Regions from separate parts of the Homo sapiens genome. Here all the other regions are linked to region 1. The links are contacts of gene promoters, found by promoter capture Hi-C in human tissues and cell types (Jung and others, 2019). All regions are on one chromosome and are shown on one strand. Each heading gives the region's core, a stretch centred on a gene start or on the middle of the fragment in contact. The rest is flanking DNA. Distances are from core to core; before and after follow the strand shown.

Region 1 (4,525 bases), core at 1,083-3,582:
TTCACAGGGCGCAGCGAACCAGTTATGGTGCCCACTTGGGGGAGGGGCAGAGATTCTTGCCACTTCATTCCCGGGCAAAGAAAATCCGCGCCCAACCGCCGGCCAGCCTAGGCCTCTGGGACTTCTTCTCTTGAGGAAGGGCCTCTTGAGCAGTCTTCTCTGAGCTTCCTTAGCCTCCTTCCGCAATTGTAGTAGAGAAAGTGCACGATTAACAGAGGACTTTGAGGGACAGAAACAACTGTAGCAAGGCGTGCGTCGTGGGGAGGGTTGGCGAGCTGCACGGGCAGCACGGAGGCCAGGGACTCAGTTGCACTACTACGAAGAAGCCACATGTCTTTGCAAAGGTGACTTTAGTAGCCCTAAAATCATCATAAAATACCTGGCGTTAATTTGCCCTCTGGACCTTTCAGCAGCTCATGAACCTCGCTGACCTCGGGCTGCAGCGGCGAGACCCTCGAGCAAGGAACGCGACTATGAGTGAGAGGCGGGGACTGGAGCCGGGGAAGAGCTCGGGGCTGGGGGCGGGGGGGCCGTTAGCCTGCTCTAAAAAGCTTAAGAGATGTGCGAGCACCCAGGGTAGCAGTGGCTGAAGCAGCTTCCGAATCCCGAACCCCAGCGCTGCAAGGTTTCCGGGCAACCCCACTTAACTGGGAGCAGGTCAAAGTCATGGAGCTAAGTCTAGGGAGGATGGAGGAGTGGATATCTGCCTAAATCGCTTTTATCCCGTCATTTTCTTCCTTCCTTCTCTTTACTCTTCCTTTCCTTTTTCTCCCTTCCTTTCCTGTCTCCTTCCACATTATTGTCTCTCTCCTTTAGGAGCTTAGTTTCCGATGCCTGTGGATCCTTCCCTGATTTCTGGGACCAGAGGTGGTGCGAGGTTTTCTTGAGGGCACTGGCCACGCTGCAGATCAACGCCGGTGGCAAGAAGGGGCCGCAAGGGTTTCCGCAGACACCCACACATGCAGGCGTTCCCACAGAGGGTACCAGGGATTTCCCAGACCCCCACCAGCCCTCAGGAATAGCGTAGAGAGAGGAACGTCGCCTGGCTGAGAAAGGTGGATGGGCATACCCATGTACCTTTGTGTATTAAGTACCCACAACCTCCGAACTTAGCCGTCCCTGTCCCGGCCCGCCCAACTGCTGCCGCCGCATCTGCAGAAACCACTCGTGTTGAGGCCTCGGAGCAGCCGGGAGCACCACGCTGGAGCAAAAAAGCCGGAGGGCGCAGGGCTCCAGCCCGGCTGACCATCCCACCCAGCGCAGGGACCAACGGAAAACCCGCGCGGCGCCAGGACCAGGGGGCTGCCCGACGCCGCTCGCGGACTAGTTCCTCAGACTGTGGGACTCCCTAGTGCCGGCTTTGCCCAGGGCTTTCCAAGGCTGTCTCATGCCCTAGATCTGCCCCAGCAGCTCAGGCCTTGGACTGCGAACCCAGTATCCCGAGACACCGATTCCATCAGTCCCCATCCCGACCCCTCTCCAGCCGGGTTCATCCGCCTGCTGCCTCCCGTCCTCCACGTTTCCCCCACCAGCCACCAACAAGCGGCAACCACGCTGCCTTCTGCAAAAGAGGAAGAAGGAAAGAAGGGAGAGAGAAAGAAAGGGGGGGAAAGGAAGGGAGGTTTAGAGACTGGAATAGAATCCGCAGCCACATTCAGAAACTTACTCGAGCTTGAGAAAAACAATTTAAGAAAAGTAAAAAGGAAGTGTCCAGAGCAGGAAGGGAATTCACAAATGTAGCCTCCAGCGGGAACAGCTCCCTGGCTGCCGAGCTCCAGCGGGAGGGGAGTCGAGCGTTTTCTTTGCCACTTACCTAGTCCCCTGTCTACAAAGCTGGTGATCGTATTAGCCGACTTGGAAGACTGGAAAAAGCTGGCATTGATGCCCAGCTTCTCAGCGATGGAGTAAGTCCTGTAGATTGACAGCATGTACTCGTGGGGCACCACGCGCGGACCCCTGCCTGGCGGCTCCTGCGCCCGGGGCTGCTGAGCCCGGGGTTCGTCCTGAGGCCGCGGCTGTGGTTCCTGGCCCTCCCGGCCCGCGTCACTGTCGCGCGGCGCCCGCTGCATCTTGCCTTCCTTGCGGCTTCGCATGCCCTTGGTGGAACCCAGCTCGGCGGACGACGAGGAGGATGAGATGGAAGCCTGCTGGAAACCGGGCAAATCCCACAGAAAACTGATGAGGAAGACGGCCGAGAGCAGGACCCTGGGAGTATCCATGGCGGGCAAGTGGCTGCGTCTCCCCAGGAGGCGGTGGCGGCGGCGCAGGACGCGCGGGGCACGGAGCGGCTGGACAGCGGCCGGGGCCCGGCTCCTCGGGCGGACTCGGAGTGCGAGGAGCCGGGTCCCAGCCACACAAACCCCGGCCCCGCCACGCCCCCTCCCGCCCCTCGCCGGGAGGGGAGGAATGGGGAGGGAGGGCAGAGGAGGGGTGGGGAGGGTGGGAGGAGAGCCGGGTGGTGCGGGCCGGAGGTGTGGGGGAGAGGGGCCGCGGTGCGCCGGTGTGGCAGGAAGACGCAGCGCCCCCGCGGGACGCGCGCGGGGTTGCCGGGCGGTGCGCGCGGCGCGGGCCGCAAGCGCTGACCGGGGGAAGGCGGGCGCTGCCGGCCCGTGGCCGGGGAGCAAAGGCTGGCCCGCCGCGCCAGGGTCCCCCTCGAACTCCCGGAGGTGTGGTCCCTCCGCAGCGCGGCCCCGGCTCTCGGTCCTCGCCAGCCGCCTCCACTTTCCTGGGAGCGAGCGGCCCCGGAGGAGGGAAGCGGCGGCGGCGCCCCCAAGAGACAGCTTGGAGCAGGCGCCTCTGCTGCAGGCTGCGTGCTGCCTCGGGGCGGTGGTACCCTCCCTCCTCGGCCCCAACCGCCAGGCCTGCCGTTTGCGCCCCTCAGGGGCCAGCCCGGAGCCAGAGAAGCCTCGCCCTGGGCCAGGCGCAGGGCCCAGCTCGGAACAGCCCCATTTTCTCGGTTGGGTATCGCTCTCCACAAAGACAGGCGTCTATTCCCGACCCTCGAGGTCAGGCAAAGGCCACGAGTCTTTAGAGTTTGGATCGATGCTAAAAGCTGCTGCGCTCCCCTGCAGGCCCCAGCCTCTCCTCTCGCAGTCCCCAACCTCTTCTGACGCAGACTTTAGCTGCTCCACTTCTTCGTCTGCTCCCGGGATCCTCTCCCTCTCGCGGCCTGCCCCCCGCCTCCACTGCATCCCCATTTTCCCTCTCTTCTTTCCCTCCCGCCTGCAGGACTTCCTCCTTCCCCAAGTTCCTTCTGCATTCCAATCCCTCTTCCCCAGCCTGCTTTTCTTCTCACACTGCCCTCCCATCTCACACTGCCTTCCCACCCTCTCTCTTCCCGGCCTCCCCCCTCGCCTTCCAGTGGACCCCTCCCTTTGCAGCTCTACCCCAATCTGTTTCTCTTCAGCCCAGCCTCGCCCCATCACGAGTTTCCTTTATCTGTCCCCAGATTCCCCGTGCCTGTCTTCCCCGCCCACTGCCTCGCTCATTCCTGGGCCTGCACGCTGAAAGGCGATGCGGCGTAGCGCTGCTTCTGTCTGCCACAGTGCTCTGCCCTGGACTGCTATGGGCAGAAGAGTTTCCCTCAGTACTGATTGGGTGCTCAGGCACCAACCATAAAGTACCCTCCTTTAATCGTGCCAACAGCTTTGTGAGGTTGGCGTTGACTATTTTCACCTTCACGGATGGAAAAAAAAAAGACTCAATGGAAATAAGTGACTTTTCCAAGGCCACTCTGCCAAGAGGTTATGCAGCAAGGGACAGAACCCAGGCTCCCACCCCAAGCCCAAGATTCTTCCCACTACAGCATAGACAGTCATTCCTGGCCCAACTTCTCTATTTCAGTTCTGGCTTTTTTCTTCTCTTTATGGTTTCACTTGATCTCAGGTGGCTTCTTTCTCCGCCATGCTACTTTCTGTGTGTGTTCCCAGTCTCTCCAATCTCCTCCCTCTCACTTTCTAACCCCTTCTTCCTTTTGCTTTTTCATCACCTCTTCTGTCCTGCAGGGACCACTCACATGACAGCCTGCAGGGGGAGGGAGTTTTGCTGCGCTGCTCCCCTCATCCTTTAACTTCCTTAAGGTCTGGGATATGCCCTCCACCCTGGACACTGGCCTCCTCCAGGTAATGGCAAGCACCCACAGAGAACTTGTGTGTCAGTCATGGTTTGAAGCCCTTCGCCAATATTATTTTACTTAATCTTCACAGCAATCCTGAAATAAGTGCTGTATTATTCCTATTTTACAGATAGGGAAAGTGAGGCCCAGGGTCACACTACTCCAGAGTCTGGGCTCTTAATCACTGGGCTATTGAGCTTGGCTGCTCTCCCCTTGGTCTCCGTGGATGCCCCTTCTGGCCCTATCCCAATTCTACTTATGTCCCCTAGTTTGGGTTTCATGGTTGTCAAGTTCTGAGACCTTATACTTGAAGGTGCTTTTACTATAATATTTTCTTCCTTCCTCTCTCTGTGCTTTAAAATGGCTTGTTAATATTTACAATAAAATAAAATAAAAGGAGATAAACTGAAA
Region 2 (4,525 bases), core at 1,294-3,793, 240 kb before region 1:
GCCCATAGCTCTAGCCCTGTATGTATTGGAGAAGAAAAAGGATTAGCTGTTAGAACCTCAACTAAGCTTTGCCAGAGGAAGAGGGAAACAGCAGATGGGAAGAAAATATTGGAGGCATACTCCAGTGTTGCAGAGAAAGACGCAATAGAAAGAAAGCCTCCTCGAGATCTGAAATATTCAAACCTCGAGGAAAACAAAAGGATGCATGAGTTACTAATCATTGAAACCATGTTATCGGTAGATGAGGAATGTATTATATTAATCTGCCTACTTTTATATATATTTGAAATTTTCCATTAAAAATGAGTTTTTAAAAAAAGTAGAGGAGGGTAGTGCCCTGAGAAGCACCTGGCAGAGAGGTACTGGGAGTCACCAACCTCCCACGGACATAATCTCCAGGAGCAAGGACAACAGCTCCAATTCATGAATCTGCTGAGGATGATTCTCCAGCTGAACAAATGTGGGCACAGAGACACCTTTCATCTAAAAAATCCCCACGAAGCAGCCAGGGTGGCTCAAAGGAGAGAATGGATGCCATGTTGCTACTCATGGACCTCAGTAGATAGTGCTGATCTAGGGTGCCAGAAACTGGATCTCAAAGGAAGCTGATAGACAAAAAGATTGGAACATTGCTTAAGACAACAACAAAAGCAAAAACAAAGCACACCTCACATAAGATATGCTGCCTGGGGCTAGTTTCTAAACTTTGTAAAGAGTCATTATGTCTCAAAGGCTACTCTCTGAGAGAAGAGACAATGCTCATTGGTAAAAGACCCTTTGCTCCATATAGTCCTTGCTCTCTTAGGAGAGAGTCCCTTATATGAAATGGATCATGGATTCTGGACAACTGACATAGTCTAACTGCCTCTGAAGGAACTGAAACCATGTTTTTTTTGTTTGTTTGTTTGTTTTTGTTTCTCCAGCAACATTCCTTCTCTTAGACGGCCATTGGTACTTGGCTCTAGCAACATAATTCTACCTGGAATAACTGATAAGGGCTAGGAATTACTTTGTTTCCTGAATATGGTGGGTATGAGGCCCCTACTGTGATTAACTTGCCTGTCTTTGAATTCTTTTCATAGGAGAGCAATTTACAGAATTGGCATTGAACTGGGTCAGATTCATAGGTCCTAAAGGAACTCTGCCCACTGCAGGGAGAGATACTCAGCCCAGGCGGCATCTGCTGAAAGAATTCCAGCTGCCCCTGTCCACTCTGCAAAGAAGAGCCCCTCGACAGCAGAATAAAAAATCAGACAAGGGTGAGTTTTAGACTTAAATTGCTTTTAACTAATCAGGGCAAGATCATTTGATGTTGCTCTTAATTCCATTAGACTTGAAAGTTTGGGGTCTTTACCTTGAAAAAAGAATTAATTTGAGGGCCTTCATTATTTCCAGGCCAATTGATAATAAGAGCTTTTAAAATTCAAGCTTAGAATGCTTCTATTGTACTGGCATTTTATTACTAACGTGTATTTATGCATTTTAATATTGAAGCGTCTTAATGTTTCACTTATCCTGTGGCAGAATCTCTAATTGTCTATATTTTACACATGGCTGGATATAAGTTGGGATTGGAATAGGTAATATGTTTTTGGCCTTAAGGACAATGTGGCATCAAAGTGTATTTTCGTAATGCTCTGTTCTGACTCATCTCAGAGCTTTCTGAGGTAAAAATCCTCACTGCTTTCTAGATGTCCCTCAAAGGAAGGGTGTGGCCTCTCATGGGTAAGAAGGACTAACTTGATCAACTACCTGACTCCTCTCTCAAAGGGAAAGCCACACTCCTATCTTAATCATACACTCAATAGGCAAACTCAATGGATAAAGGGAATTAAAACCTGGGGAACCATGGAGGGAAAAGCCCATTTCCCCCCTTTTATTTCAATGAAAAGGGATTTCTCTAGTCATTCCTGGCCTCCCTTCTCCTCCTCCCCATGGAGATGGTGTGAAATACCTGGCCAGTGACACCCAGTCAGTAGCCACAGCTATCATTCCACAATTCTTCACCAGTGGAGCTCATCTCCCAAAGGTCTAAACACAGGAAATTTTCTCTCTTTCTCCTTCTCTCCGTTCCAGGGGAGGCAATAACCTGGCTAACAGTGTTTGCTCTGCAGATTCAAACTTTCCTTCCGATAGGTTTTTCCAAGGTCTAGATAGTAAATTAGAAAGACTGTTTATGATCCTAAGCTACATCCACTAACATAGCCTTTATCAGTAATAAGGGTCCTTGTTTATTACTCTTTTTATTTCTCTAGTGGTTAAAATCTCAGGCAGAGAAGGGTGTGTTACATCAGCACTCAGAGTTCTTTGAGAATTAGCTTGAAATAATTCATATAAAGCTCTTATATTGGTGTCTGGGTACAATATGAGTGCTCAAACACTCTGGCAATGCCGCCAATGACCTCCCATGTAGTAGGTTTCCATGTGGCATGGGCCCTCAGCCTTCATGTGTTACTTTACTACTTCTTGCTTTGTTTTCCAGTTATCTGTATTTGTGTCATTAGGGGTTATAACTGCCGAGGTCAGAGATCACATCTTCATCATCTTTGCATTATCTGAAGCACCAACCATAATGCCTTGTATGAAGAGCATGCTCAATAAATAATTACTGTAAAACTAGATGATCAGAGGGCAGTCCAATGTTTACTAACTATTCACCCTAGAATTCCATATTTAAATAACCTCATAAAATAGGTCAACCATTCTTTTGAATCCAACTGGAGTTTGTTCTTAGACAAATTCTCAACAAGAGAAAAATATGCAGCTTATCACATGGGTCACCTAATCACAGAAAATAAAATCAAGATTCTGTGGAACTGACATAGTTGTTTTCTCCAGGGAAGCTTAAAGCACTTTACAGTCTGCACAACATCTAGACTCAGAGCAGTCCTGGGAGTAGCTGGATGATCCCTCACAGCTACCTAAACACTGTGTATACAATGCATTTCCCCCTTTGAAATCCTTTTTTTGGTGCTAGAAACTATGTAGATGCTTAATAAATATTATTATGAAAAACAATAATATTTATTTGAGGTCCCATGGTGAAGCTAAGAAACTGAGCCCAGCTAAGGGTCATATCAGAATCCACAGTCTCCCTCAGCAAAGCAGGAGAACTTTGTGACTACACACCTACTATGCCAGGCAGTCAACAAGATTTTTTAAGTGTTACTCAGACAGGTAAGCCTCTACCACAAACCAAAGAATAAATAAATACATAAAATACTGAGGCAGATACGATTCTTGGCCTTAAGTTGCTCTCTATCGAAAGGAAACAAACTCTTCCAAAAATAACACCATATACCACCAAATATGTACAGGTGTATAAAGCCACTTGGTTGTATATAGCTACAAGATTACATAATGAAGAGAGTTCCCAGGGCCAAAACAGATGTGTTTAATCTTCACTTTGCTTTTATTTGTCTGATTAAATTGTTGTCTGATTAAATTGTTGTCTGATTAAGTTGTTTCCATGGTAGTTGTTCCATTTACAGCTATGTAGTCTGGGGTTTACTCTCTTTTGGCCTTGGTGTTACTATCTGGAAAATGAGATTTTAAAAAGTACTAATTTGATAACATTATGAGAATTAAATAAAATAGTTTATATAAAATGCTCAGCACAGTATTTGTTATATAGGAAGCTCTCAAAATTACTATTACTATTGTCTATCTTCTTGCATGTGTCATAAGACTAAATTTGTGTACCCTAGTTTATTTTAGTTTTTGCATTCTGATTATAAAAGTCTTACATAGTCACTGCAGAAATCTTAATAAATGCAGAAAAATATAGTTGGGAAAATAAATCTCATCCATAATTCTAACACCCACAGGTAAAAACTATTAGCATCGCAATAAATTTCTATTTTCTAAAGGCAGGGATCATATTGGTTTCATCTGTGTAAAGTACCTGGCATGTAGTAGGTACTCACTGAGTGGATGTTGAAAGATCTCATAGTCAGGAACAAGTGTATGACAATAAAGCTATATTTATATACTGTATAAGTAAAAGGGAAACATTCTAAAGGATAATCCCTGGGCTCCTTTCAAAGTAAAAAATCAGAATTAATGGAAAATAAAAAGACAGATTCCCTAGGTTATACATAGGATACCCACTAAGCCCCACAACCCAAATGTTGGTAAGCATAATGCAATACTTGCTTGCTCTGCATAAACTGCACTAATTTGCTGTCCTCTGTGTGATGATTCTTATTATGTTCCTATTTTTTCCTTTTGGTCCTAAATTCTATTACACTGATAGATTGAAAACTACATAAGAGCAGGCATTTGTGGCCTTCTCATCCTCTTGGATTCCCCATTATCTCCTAGTCCCAGACTCTGCACTCAGTGGTCACACCCTACATTTTATGGACTGATAAGCTAAGTTAGCATCTATTCCGGATCACTGACTTATCCCGACCAGGTAGGGACAATTTTATCTAAATCTCTCAGACCGTAGGGACAGCCCAGTTGGTCATTAGTTGTTCCTACTTAGTCTCTTGCATCATATCAAAGGCATTTATTGAGAAAC
Region 3 (4,525 bases), core at 1,126-3,625, 200 kb before region 1:
GAATGGCTTAGTGCCACTGTCACAGGAGTGAGTGAGTTCTCAGTCTTAGTTCCTATGAAAACCGGTTGTTGAAAACAGCATGGCTCCTCCTCCTCCTCCTCCTCCTCCTCCTCCTCCTCCTCCTTCTCTCTCTCTCTCTCTCTTTCTCTCTCCTTCTCCCTGCTTACACCATGGGTTGGGCTTCCCTTTGCCTTCCACCATGAGTGGAAGCAGCTTAAGGCCCTCACCAGATGCAGACGTCAGCACCATGTTCCTAGTACAGTCTGCAGAACCGTGAGCCAAATAAACTTCTTTTCTGTATAAATTACTCAGCCTTGAGTATTCCTTTATACCAACACAAATGAACTAAGACAGCCACTTTAGAAAAGAACTCTCTCACTCTGTCTAAATCTTAATAAGGTGCTGTAGTGGTTTTTAAAAAGTGGCTGCTAGGCCTTTGACATTTCTTCCATCAAAAAGTGGAGTCCCCTTAGATTTGGGCTAGATTATAGCTGTTTTAACCAATAGAGTACAGTAGAAGAGATGCTAAATGACTTCCAAGAGTAAGTCATAAAAGGCAATGCAGTTTCTGTTTTGCTTACTGGAAAACTTGTACTGGAGCTCTGAACCCCCTACGAAGTCTGACTATACCAAGGCTGCAGTGGTGTAGCTCAAGCCACATGGAAAGGTTATGTGTGGGCCTTTGGACGGACAGTTTCAGCTAAGTCCAGACTTCAAGTAATTTCAGTCCAGATACAGGGCATTTGAATGATAGTGTCCCCTTCAAAATTCATATGTTAAAATTTAATCAACAATGTAGTAGTATTAAGAGGTGAAACCTTAAGAGGTGATTAAGTCATAAGGGCTGAGCCCTCATAGATTGGATTAGGGCTCCTATAAAAGGGTGAGAGGGAGTGAGTTTGCTATCTTCTATGCTTTCACCATGTGAGGACACAGAAAGAAGGCCCCCACAAGACATACAATCTGCTGGCACCTTGATCTTAGACTTTCCAGCCTCTACGACCATGAGAAATAAATTTCTGTGCTTCATACCCAGTCTGTGGTGTTTTGTTATAGCAGCACAAATAGACTAAGATAAGAAGCGTCTAGATAATTCTGGTCCCCAGCTTAGGGTCACACAAGCCTTTGATTTTTCTCAGCTGAGTCCCCACACATCAAGGAGAGGAGATAAGCATCCTCACTACAACCTGACCAATTCTTAACCACAGAATCTGTAAATAAAACAAAATGGTTGTTTGCCTCTGAGTCTGGGGATGGTTTCTTACATAACAACAGGTGCATTGGCCCAGGGTTTAAAAACTTCCAGGGCACCAAACAAAGGAATCATTTGGAATATTGGAACAGATGTTGATAAAAATGAAGGACTCGAATGACTGGCTAGCACACATTATTACATGACGTGGCTTCTAATCCTTTCCTTTCAACAAAATTATAATAAGACTTTATAGATTTATTAGCTGTTAGATAATTAAAATAATTTTTGATGTTTGGTAGCTATGTGAATTTTGGTATATAAATCATAAACAATTCAAAGAATATATAATAGCTATAATACAAATCTTTCTAGTCCTATTTATGTAAACAAAATATCATTGCATTTTCATTCATAAAAATAAAAAATAAGAATAGAGTGGATGCGAGATCATGTTTCATTCTAATAGTAATATTCGCTCAGGATCATGTGAACTGACCAAAAGATAAACAGACCTAAACATCTCATTAAGAACAGCATTTCCAATAAAAATCATACTTCTTATGGTTAACAATTATTTATCAAAATGTGTGATAGCCAGGTGCAGTGGCTCATGCCTATAATCCCAGCACTTTGGGAGGACGAGGTGGGTGGATCACTTGAGCTCAGGAGTTTGAGACAAGCCTGGGAAACACAGCAAAACCCCATCTCTACTAAAACCATGAAAATTAGCCAAGTGTGTACACCTGTAGTCCCAGCTACTCGGGAGGATGAAGTGGTGGGATCACTTGAGTCCAGGTCAATGCTACAGTGAGCCTTGATTGTGCCACTTTACTCCAGCTTGGGTCAGAGCAAGACCCTGTCTCAAAAAAAAAAAAAAAAAGGTGATGTAGCTACATCAGTTTAATCAGTTGATAACAATTGTAATTATATCTCAAACTAGAAAAAAATTATTTAACACTTAGAGCCTATGGTTACAGAAAAAATATTTTCTATCTTTATTGAGGTATAACTAGCAAAAATTACATATATTTAGGGTGTACAACATGTTTTTAACATATGTATGTATTGTGAAATGATTACCCCAGTAAAACTAATTAACATATTCATCACTTCACATAATTTGGGAGCTTTGGCATGGGGAAAAGAGGAGATAATGGTCAAAGGGTACAAATCTTCAGCTCTAAGATGAATAATTACTGGAGATATAATGTATAACATGGTGACTGTAGTTAATAATAATATACTGTATACTTGAAATCTTCTAAGAGGGAAGATCTCAAGTTTTGTCACAGAAAACTTTTTCAAGTTTAAATTTTTAAATGTATCAATTTTAAATTTAAATGTATATCATATTTCTGCTGTTGAAAATACGATAATCAATATTTTAAAAATCCATGCTTAAAATATACCCTACAGGGAAAGGAAAATCAAACTGAAAATCTGAAAAACTATTTTAAATTTTCAACTGTTAAAGACGAGCTTGTTCATGTACTTTTTAAAGTAGATAATGGTCATTATAAAAATAATTAAAGTATTTAGATTACACTGGACACATTTTAAGTAGTGATCATATATTTTTGTCTTGAAATATTAATGTTCATAATACACTAGAAAGATCCTTTGCAACTATTTAAACTTATGATCTCAACTTTAAAAGGTATGAAGCAGCCAGGCGCAGTGGCTCACACCTGTAATCCCAGCACTTTGGGAGGCCAAGGTGGGAGGATCACTTGAGCCCAGGAATTCGAGTGCAGCCTGGGCAACATAGTGATACCGTCTCTACAAAAAACATGAAAAATTAGCCAGGTGTGGTGTCACGCACCCGTAGTCCCAGCTATTCAGCGGGTGCGGGGAGCCTGAGGTGGGAGGATTGCTAAGCCCAGGAGGTTGAGGCTGCTGTGAATTGTGATTGCGCTACTGTACTCCAGCTTAAGTAACAGAGAGTGAGACCCTGTCTCAAAAACAAACAAACAAACAAAAGGTATGAAGCATTTACATTTTTTCGTTACCTTTCTTTGTTTGCCTCATTGAGCCTTTTTAATCTCTTCCTACTCCCTAAACAACTTACTTTTAATCTTAGTCTATTGTCTCATCACCTTCTCTTTCCTCTTATTTGATAAAGGACATGTTTTGAGAATTTTATCGAGAACACAAAACAGATGCTTTCAAAGATTTATTTTGTATTCTTTCAGTTAACTTTTTTCTAACACAAGTTTTCCTTGGTATCTTACATGAGCTCTTTGTTCTTTCTTATATTTCCTAATATTTTCACAAGCCGTTTGTTGATTTTTTTTCCCTTGTTGGTTCATGTGCTCTGATTGTCTATCTCCTCCTCAGATGTGTGATTTTATTACTGTATGTAAACAATGGAGGTGTTGGACAACCCCAGCTGCATTTCTTCCTAATCTTGCTATATCTTTTAGGATTCTATACGTGACTGGGTTGATGCAAATTGTCTCTACAGATTACAAAACCCTTGACTGGTACTCCTGTTGATGTTATTGAAATCTTGCATTTTTTTCAGTGATTTTCATAATAAAGCCAGTAGGGAATTATTAACCAGTCATCCTGATAATCTATAAGTTAGGGATGAGAAGCTTTCAAATGTTTATATCAATATATCAATCTTTTTTTTTATAGAGTCATAAGGGGAATGGAGTATTTTGAGAATGCCTCAAGTGGCAGGAAGAGGTGTGTGGCAATGAATCCCAGCTCACAGTTCACTGAAAATCAGCATGCTGTAAGATGCTGATCTTTGATTCAAGCATTTCCTTAGCCCAGCTGCTGCCTAAGAGCCTTTAATTAGAAGAAACACAATACTTTTCAAACTATGATGTTGGCTAGCATCCATTTGTATTTGGTTCTTACAAAGGCCAATATTTAATGCCATCAGAGCTCACTCTGGGGAGAGTTCGCGCCTAACCTCCCAGAGCCAAAAATATCCCCCAGACACAAACACAAACGTAGGTTCCATTCTACGCTAAGTTGAAGCAACATATTATTTTTCTATAATCAGCAAAGTTGTAAGGAAAACAAGTGTGCAAAAGGCATTTCTCTGAATAGTGCTGAACTATGCAGATGACACCTATGGCATTTTCCTCTCAGTCCCTCCTCAATCCACAATAGTTAACACGTGGAACTCCATGTGAGCATGGTATGACCCCCACCCTCCACTCAGCTGATCGACCCAGAGCTGGGCACCAGATCCAAGCTAGACCAATCCAGTGTCCCATCTCTCCAGCTACAGCTGACTGTTCCAGGGGTCAGCACCTATCTGAAGTCGTGCCAGTAAGTTCCACACTGAACACTTGGACTTGGGACTGAATTATA
Region 4 (4,525 bases), core at 1,236-3,735, 180 kb before region 1:
TGCATTTCTCTAATGATTAATGATGTTGAGCATTTTTTATGTGCTTGTTGGTCAAGTCATTTGCATTCTTAACACTACACTTGGGTTAATTAAATATCTCAGCCACTATGTTCAAATTATTGCTTAGGAAAAGTTAGTTTTCTCAGGAAATTGATCTCACCCAAAACAAGTTTTCCTAAGCCTTGAGGGGAGCCTTATTGTTGTGCCTTTGTGCAGAATTCACTATTTTTGGGAGATATAAACATTCTAGAGTATTAAAGCTTCACTCTAGTGGGAAGCATTTAACACAGATGAGGCTAAATAGAAAAATACACTAAATAGGTAATAGTAATAATATAAATTGAGCTGGTGTCTTTCTTTTTTAATTGTTGGGGACTCAGTTATAGAATGGGAGGATCACAAAGCTTCTGAAAGGAAGAACCCATCCATGTAGGCCAGGATTCATCAATCTCTCCATCCCAAGATGTCTGTCTTCCCCTCAGCATCACAGGACACTGGTTCAGGCCCTGGGGTGGAGGAGATAGCTGGCGTGGGCTAGAGAGGGGGAACCACCTCCCACCAGAGGAACTGGAGGGCTGAGTGGTGGGCTGAGGGCCACTGGGAAAGGGAAAGCCCCTTGGCTGACACACCTGTGAGTGTTAAACATGCACAGATGGGAAGCCTGTGTTTACCTATGATTTGGACACAGGATTAGAAGGTCACATTCAAAAAATGCCTCCTAAGAACCCCCTGGAGGGAACAGACTTTGGGTTAAAGCATTTTCTGAAGAGACTCAAAGCAAGTTCTTCTCTTGTTGAGAGATAAGATAAATGAGGACCCTCACTCTTGGCCTTTTTCCCCCTACTTATAGTTTCTACAGATGCTTGGAGTCATATGATCTACTCTAAGCAAATTCTGACTGAGGTACGACAGGAGGGATCCAGGTTCTGTGAGGCCTGAAAACAATACGGTTATTGTAAGGATTAAGAGAGACAATATATGTAATCTTTGGCTTGATGCTTTGCACAATGTAAGGACTCAATAAACAACAGTTACCTAAGGGATAGGTCATGAAGCAAGGAGTCCAGTGAGGATATTCCCTCAACAGTGTGGGCCAGAGATGAGAAAGCTTACACTGGCACTGTTGTTTGGCAGCAAAGATGGAGATGGAGAAGGTGGAACAGTGCTGGAAGAAATTAAGAGGACAGGAATAGTAGGGTGTGCTTGATGATTGGATTCAGAGGATGATTTGAGAAGTGGGAAGAGGGAAGTGCCAGCCAAAAAACTGAGGAAGAACAAACAGAGCACCAAGCATCAAGTAGTGATCACTGAATGACTCAATACTGCCCAGCATGGACACACCTAGGAAATGTTAGCCAAAGAAATGTTATAATTGTCTAAGTGTATAAATGTCAAATGAAGGGGGCAATGTATAAATTTTATTTTAAAAATAAATATTTTTATTCATAGTTATAGTCTCATATGAATTAAAGTACTGAAAAATGACTTAATTACCCAAAAGTGTCATCATTGTGTAATAAAAATAAACTAGAAAAGAACGTTACGATGGCTAGTAAATTATTAGAAATATAGACAAAAGACAGAATTAAATCACCACTTTATATTTTTTTCAGGAAAAAAACATTTTTTCAAGTAGAGAATCTCATATGCTTACCTGTTAATAAACAACAATCCAGTTGGGAAAGGATATTTGATTGGAAGTCAGTGTACTAGTCTCAGTTCCTTAACTTACCCTATGACCGCTAGGGAATTACTTACTCAGTTTCATGCTATGTTGAAATTCTAACACTAGTTACGCTGATGCATATAGCAGAGGCAACAAGGAGTCAAGCAGATAGGTCATCAGGAAAAGAGAAGACACCTGGTATGAAATATACTCATCATTAGCACAGAATAAATCAAGATAGGCAAGTAGGCTCTGATTTCCCATGTTATGCTAATAGAGACATTAATAAATCACAGCATCCTTTCCCACTGAACCCAAACATACACTTCACAGTTCAATGCTCTAAGTAGCCATTGGCAATCAAGAGTTGACATCACAGAAAAAATCTATCCATCATCTTAGTTTTTCAATCAGTATAGTGTAGGTGATGCTTCAGTAATAAATAACTCCAAATTCTCAGTAGCTGAAAACAACAGAGATTCATCTTTTGTTTAGATTACACATCCTTTAACAGCTGGCTAGGGACTTTGCTCCACATCATGATCATGCTCACTTCAAGGCCCTAGCTAATGGAGTACACTTATCTGGAACACTGCCAATCAGAGAGGCAAAGGAGATGTGTGGAAACACAAACTAGCTCTGAAGGCCCCATACTTCTGCTCACCTCCCATCGATCAAAGGAAATCATACAGCACAGCCATACCTAACATCTAGTGGACAGGGAGATACAATCCCATCATTGGCCTGGAAGGAAACAGCCCGAACACTAGACCAGCCCTGATGACTGTCACACTGGTATAGACCCAGAGGAATCTGGCCCAGCTGCAAAGCCCAGCTCCAATGGTACAGTCAGATCAGTAAGCCCCACGCTTATTGGTAGTCTAGTCTATAGTTAGTTCTTAGGAGCTTAAAGTCTATTTTAGAGGGGCTTTAGAGGGAGAATAATGTTCAAGAAAACAGGCAATTATAATACAGAAGAATGAAGAGCTACCATGGGGTTATCGGATGCAGTACGAGAACATACAAAGGGCACTGAACCCACACCAGAGGGATCAGAAAGGGACAATATCTAAGCAAAGACCTAGAGAATTGGTAGTAGTATGCTGAATATAATGAGGGGAAGGAAGGAGAAAGAGCAGCTCATCTGCAGGCAACAGTGTGTGCATGACCAAGGAGCAAGAGTGAACACAGCCAGCTGCAGGAATGGCCTGAGGCAGGTATGACCAAGACTGCCAGGGAGAGGGAATGGAGGGGAGGGGGACTCAATCACAAAGGGCCTTGGTAGCCATGCAGCGGACTGTGGGGAATCAGGAGGCAGGACCAGGGTTATGTAGAGGAACCCTATAACCAGACTTACATTTTAGACTTACCCAGGGTCACAAAGCAAGAAGCTAGCAGAAATTCTGCTTAAAACTAAGTCTGCACAGAGTTATTTTGTTGAGAACATTTTGTGGCAAAACTTACGGAAGAGACTGCATATGTGGTCACTTGAAAATGAAGGAAACGATGTCTTTTTCAGTGAGATGTATTTAAAAATAACTTCCAAATATGTCTTGTTTTTCCTTGGCCTTATTTAGGAAAATATCTTTAAAAGCAGAACAACATGCCCAGTGCAAAGCATTGACTCCCTCATCAAGAACTAATGAGAGGGTCAAATTAGATCAAGACCCAAGTTGGCCACAGACACAAGCCTGTAAGATGCTTCTGGCCTTCACACACAGCAGGGGCATCTGCTGGTGGGACTTGAGAGACAGGCTCCAGTTCTCTGAAGGGCTTCCCCAGAACTGGAGAATGAGGAATTCCATGTGTGCTCACATATGCATTCTGCATCTTCATCTGCCGCATGAACTGAATCCTGAAAGGAACATCTGCCTAGCAGGGAGTGCAGATGGCCAGATCTCACTGAGTCAGCAAACAGAGCCCTTGCAAGGGGTCGGTCCTCAGGTACAGATGGCCTCCAGGGGAGCCTCCCACCTCGGAGGAAAGCTGCTAGCATCCTGGAGTTCCTAAGCATGAGAGAGCCAGGTAGTCCAAAATATCTACAGGAAGAGGATTCCACCTGTGCCATCTCAGAAGCCAGGTCTTCTTGGAAGATCTATGCTGTTTCAAAGGCTTTCCCACAACCCAGAACATCACTAAAGAGAATGAAATTCATTTCAGACTTCTGTTTCCTGAAGTTAATCATACGGTTCCATATAGTGGCTCCCTATCGGTTCTAAGCAATATGCCCTTTGAGGGTCTTTTCAATTCACTTGTGACCTGCTTTCGATCCATTTTGCATAGGCCTCCAATTGCTAGGCATTTTCATATGAAACTCAGTATAAGACAGATTTTCAGTTCTTTCCTTGTCTCTGTCAGAAGCAGAATGGCAAGCAGAAATGTATACTGGGTTTCTTTTCTTGAATGGTTTTCATTTTCACTCTTCACAGCAGTGGGATTCTTTGTGGCAAGGATTACCCAAAAAACATGAACCCTTCTTCCTGAGGTTTGCCCAACTCCACAAACTTCAAATTTGAGAACTCTGAATTCTTACTGCATCATTATGTGCACAGAATCATGCATTTTTATAGGCTTAGATATATGCATTATGATTTTTTTTAATCTAAGGATTTTGATTTCAAAAGTAAGCTCTGTTACAAAACTGTAGTCTTTTCTTTGAGAAAAAGATTCATATTATAGTCCATGTACAAAAAAAAACTCAACAAAAATTATGCTATAATGTAGCATAAAACATATTTTCAAAATACAGACATTTACATATTTCTTTCAAAATGAAACTACTCTACACCAACTGGAAGAGATGATCTCATGAGAAATGGCAACATCAATTGTTCATACTAGCTGCAAATTTTACAAATT
Region 5 (4,525 bases), core at 875-3,374, 150 kb before region 1:
CCAAAGGAAGGCCGTGGAAAGCTGGCCCGGACATACAAATGTGGTGCCTGGAGTTCCCTCCACTGGAGTCATTCCTTCAATTAGGGCATTATCTGTAACAGAAATATGTTATCTAAGTAATCCATTAGCAGTCAGGCCACATTAGCAGGAAGGGATTTTAAATTTTTTGCTTTTCCAGAATAGAAGGAACGGGACATGGCACAGCTAAATTTTGATGTTTCAAGTTCACACACTTGTGGTGTTGAGAGTGTAAGGAGGAACCGACTTAGAAAATGCCGTTGTGTGTGGGTCTGCCATACACAAGAGTGATAGCATATGAAAACACACACCTGCAGGAGGATGAAGGGAAGGAGAAGGTAGATGGGCTTTCATGCCCCCATCACAGCTGATGCACCAAGCTTCAGGTGCTGGGAGATCCGAGGTCTTAGAAGTTTCCAAATATTTGTGGTAGGCCCACTATGTGCTAGGCATTGTGCTGAAACTAAGGTTATAAAACTAGATCAGATAGAGTCCCCGTGCCTGAGGAGTTTATATTTGCCCCTGAGAAGTTGGGGAAATCTGTAGCTTGTCAGGGGAAGGAAAAACTCATGGAAGCAACTTGGGAAAAAAAGAGGAAGCAGGTTAGGAAAGGAGGTGAGGGGAATTGAAGGTGGAATTCAGCTCCTCCCAGGGCTCTGTGGAGGCACCACAGCAGTGGCATCTGCCCAGGCAAAGGTAAAGCCCACCCACTTCAGAGCAGCTTTGTCTTTAGAAAGGAGGCCTCCAGGCTCAGCCAGTCCTCAGAACCTACTGGCTGGTAGAACCTTCTTATTCCCTAGGAGATCACTTGAGGGGATGAAGGATGGGTGAGGGAAAGGGATTGCACTCCCCTTCTTCCCAGCACAGAGGAATTTGACGTTGGCACTAACCCAGAGGGAACTGCCCCTTTGTCTATCAACTCTACTTTCTCCTTTGCTATCCCTACAGAGTAGCCCTTCCTGTGTGCTCTTCACTCACCCACCTCACTCCTCAGCCTGGACTGTGTAACACTGACATAAAGAAATGAGGTGGGGAACATGCCTCCACTGTAGAGTGAACTGCTCAGAAAACAAATTAACTGAGGGCTAGATTCCACTTTGAGAACTTCAGGGGAGGCTTATTTAGGACTTGCAGGGATGGAGGATTGACAGCAGCCTGAAGGACAAGCAACAGATGGTGCCTAAGTTCCACCGCGGTTGCGTCACCATGGAAAGCGGTTGCAACACCCAAATTGACCAGCAGTTCATCAGGGCCCTGGCCCCCAGGCCTCCTGCTGTGGCCAATCAGCTCATTGTTTGAAGGACCCAGTTCATTGTTTTGTTGAGTCCACCATGAAACAAAATTCTTTCCAGAGCCTTGATTAGCCTTATTAGAGCTCATAAAACTTTTTCAGTCTGTCCAAATGTCTCCATTTTCTTCTAGATATTTGTGGTTGGGGGTATCTTTGCTGTCCGTTTTCAATTAGTAAAGAAATGCAGCAAAAGAATAAAAAGAAGAGCAAATTAGAATCTGGACGCATTGCTTCTTAATACCATGTGAAAACTTGTGACAGAGGAAGGGGGTGAGATATAGAAAATACCTTCCTCTTTTTCACATTCCAAGACCAAGTCAACCGCTGGCTTATGGAATGCGTGTCATGCCGTTCCATGACATAATATGAGCCTTTTTATTTTTATCACAAACTGAAAATCTTGCTGATAAATGCCAATATATATTAGGATTCTTCCTATTTCCTGGCCTGTGTGTGGTCATGGGCTGTATGCTATCCATTAATGATAGAACATTGACCTTGGCTGTACTCTAGGTTCACTGAACATTTCCTTAGGGCCCGGCAGAGCACAAGACATTTTTGCCAAAGCTGTCTCTGCAACTCTTCTTCACCCTCTTAATTTAAAAACCCGTGTGTATTTTAACAAAAATATCATCCATCTGTTTCTGATTCATTTACACGTAACTGACCAAATCTCCTCTTCTCAAGGCTATCGTGTCCCACAGGCTCTGCATTGGTGTATAATACCATGTTGAACCTTTCTTCCCTGAATATTAAGAAGCCTTGTTTAGCCAAGAGATTACATGCTCCACTCCCCAGGATTGAAGGGGTGTAGTGGGAGGGTCCAAATTCCAAATCCCTTGGTGCGTCAGTCCACTATGGGCTTGGCAAAATGTCTCCACTCGTCCACAGTGCTGACTTGATTGAGCTGTTATTGCTATGATGTATGAGTGTGAGTGTGTTTGTTTATGAGTGTATGTGTGTGTGCACTGACTGGTGGTGATTAAACATATTTCGTGACATTAACTCAGACTAGGGGTAGGCTTCACTTCTCTGTAGTCAGATCAACTGGCTGACTTAGTGTGAGACTGAATTGAATTCCTCCTATGACTTCCGCTGTGCTGGGTTTTATCCACCTGTCAACCAGGAGCAGAAAAATGAGAAGCAAGGCTTCTCAAAAACAGGAGGAAGAACTCAAGTTCTGGGAGTTCTCCCAGCATTCTTCACTTCAGGCAGCTTTATTCTCAGTTGGGAAGAGGGTATACAGGAGACCACTAGGTCAAGTCCACTCTCAGCATGGACAAGTGAGAGAAATCGTTGCTATTACTTCAGCTGTGTTGGATACTGGCATCATGCCAATCCACCAAGAGCTTCTCCCAAACTGGAAGCCACAAAAAAAGACCTGGGCCACCTAAGGCTGCCCTCACAGCCCAGACAAGAGTTGGCATGTCAAATGATGAATGTTTTTTCTACCTGTTCCACAAGAGCTAGATAGGGCCATCTACATCTAAACTCTATCAAACCCAAAACTTGCTTTTAAAAAAGTTCATTGAAACCTTAGTTATTCAGCATTCTGCTACTTCTGACAATATTCACCATGATGAAATCAATTGCTTCTTCCAATCCAGTTTTCTTTAATAAATCTTATTTTTATAGACTCAGATTAACCTATTTCTTCATTATTTTTATTAAGTTGTGAGCCACATAGAAAATTTAACACAAAGTTACATTTGTGGAGTGACATGAAATATTTGGGCTTACAAGTTGAGTGTGGAAAAAAATGATTTCTCAAAATCAAGCTCAACACTATCTCCTAACTTAGTAAACAGACACTGGGTTAAATAAGGAAAATAAACTTTATTCTGGAAGTACAAGAGGTCTGAGTCTACTTGAATGTTGTGGGATATGTTGCAATTGATCTGTAGTTAATAATAGTTAAAGTACTAAAGTTTGTGAATAATTCACTTTTAAGTAAAACTTAGTGGTAGCTTCAAGGTAAGCCCTATAATAATGCCACTTGAAACCACCACATTCTCTGATATGCTTTACTGAGTTGGAGCGAAAGGGTTCATGTTACTTCAAGGACCCCTAGGATAGTGCATAGGGATGCAATGGGAATGCGTCCTGCATGTGAACATCATCCATCACTCATGTTATGGCAGAAACAGTTGGGAACCTCTACACTCAAGGTCTCAGTACATGTCATAGTTGGAATTGTGAGGCTCTTTCTCACTTTTTAATGTAGAGGGATTTGATTTTTAGCCATTATTATTATATAAAGCAAGCTCACACTCAGAAAAGGATATTTAAGGGTTTTACTGGCCAAAGTGGCATTCCTGTGCAGTGTGATCTTGTAGTAAGGCAGAATTAGGAAACAGTGCTGGCATTAATAAATTCTCCTTCTCTCTCCCTCCCTGCTTCTGTGTGTGTGTGTGTGTGTGTCTGTGTGTGTGTGTGTGTGTGTGTTCATGTGTACAGTTGATTAATTGGTTGGTTGTTTAGTGTAGAAAGTGAGTTACTGGTTCTGTGAACCATGGGCACAGCTGTGTCTAAGATAAGATTAGGAAAAGCATCAGCCACTCTGCAAATGGCACTAGATGGAATGCTAATGAGGCCAACGTCATGACTTCATGTTCAATCTGTGTACTGAGACTACTTAATTTATACTATAGGCATGACCTGTGGGTTCCCTAAACCCCATCTCCATACCAGCCACCAGCCAGTATCTCCTAAATACATGCTATGGTCACAGTCTGGACCAAAAGATCAAATGTGACAATTGTTATGGATCGCTGAGAACCTCGGTTCTCCTCAAACTCCTACTTAGAATCAAAAACACTTACTGCCAAGGATATAAATAATAGCTCCCTGCAGTGGCATTTTAAAACTTTCCAGTCTCTGGATAGCTGTGTAAATCTGCCTTGCAGACTGAGGGTATACAACGCATTCAGATGAGGAAAGAGACCACACAATTTTTCCAGGCCAATGGGCAGGGCCATTTTATCTGTTTTTTCTTCCAGCATGCACTCATCACCTCTGTTCTTTACTACCATCTGACATTGATACAGAGGCTGTGCTTTTAAATTTTGACAAATCTTTACCATAATCCACTGGGCAAAAGAAACCTTGACAGCTGCCATTCCTCCTTTTACCTGCAACCATTAATAAACAAAAATACAGGGTAAGGTTGAGTATGAGTCCCAAATGTCCCAACCAGCTGTTTCAGGTAAATTTTGC

Evidence for each region. Contacts are between HindIII fragments. The study calls those that stand out against the background at their distance.
Region 2: a contact is called between a fragment that was not itself captured here and the fragment with the promoter of GDF6 in region 1, in 4 of the 25 tissues and cell types used here (aorta, dorsolateral prefrontal cortex, lymphoblastoid cells and 1 more).
Region 3: a fragment that was not itself captured here is called in contact with the fragment with the promoter of GDF6 in region 1 in 2 of the 25 tissues and cell types used here (lymphoblastoid cells and mesenchymal stem cells).
Region 4: a contact is called between a fragment that was not itself captured here and the fragment with the promoter of GDF6 in region 1, in 2 of the 25 tissues and cell types used here (IMR-90 fibroblasts and mesenchymal stem cells).
Region 5: a fragment that was not itself captured here is called in contact with the fragment with the promoter of GDF6 in region 1 in 1 of the 25 tissues and cell types used here (IMR-90 fibroblasts).

What each region holds. Positions count from the first base shown.
Region 1 is chr8:96,158,474-96,162,998 of GRCh38, forward strand. GDF6 (growth differentiation factor 6) reads right to left here and starts at 2,333. Exons shown (of 2, transcript NM_001001557.4): 1 at 1,814-2,333. The coding sequence starts at 2,219. The HindIII fragment of the contact is 22,921 bases long and covers 1-4,525 here.
Region 2 is chr8:95,922,842-95,927,366 of GRCh38, forward strand. No RefSeq gene overlaps it. Among named protein-coding and RNA genes, the nearest start is that of GDF6, 240 kb to the right of the region's middle. The HindIII fragment of the contact is 5,171 bases long and covers 1-4,525 here.
Region 3 is chr8:95,957,066-95,961,590 of GRCh38, forward strand. No RefSeq gene overlaps it. Among named protein-coding and RNA genes, the nearest start is that of GDF6, 200 kb to the right of the region's middle. The HindIII fragment of the contact is 5,589 bases long and covers 1-4,525 here.
Region 4 is chr8:95,980,852-95,985,376 of GRCh38, forward strand. No RefSeq gene overlaps it. Among named protein-coding and RNA genes, the nearest start is that of GDF6, 180 kb to the right of the region's middle. The HindIII fragment of the contact is 8,089 bases long and covers 1-4,525 here.
Region 5 is chr8:96,005,214-96,009,738 of GRCh38, forward strand. The region is part of intron 1 of LOC124901983 (a long non-coding RNA gene); the gene reads left to right. Among named protein-coding and RNA genes, the nearest start is that of GDF6, 150 kb to the right of the region's middle. The HindIII fragment of the contact is 9,341 bases long and covers 1-4,525 here.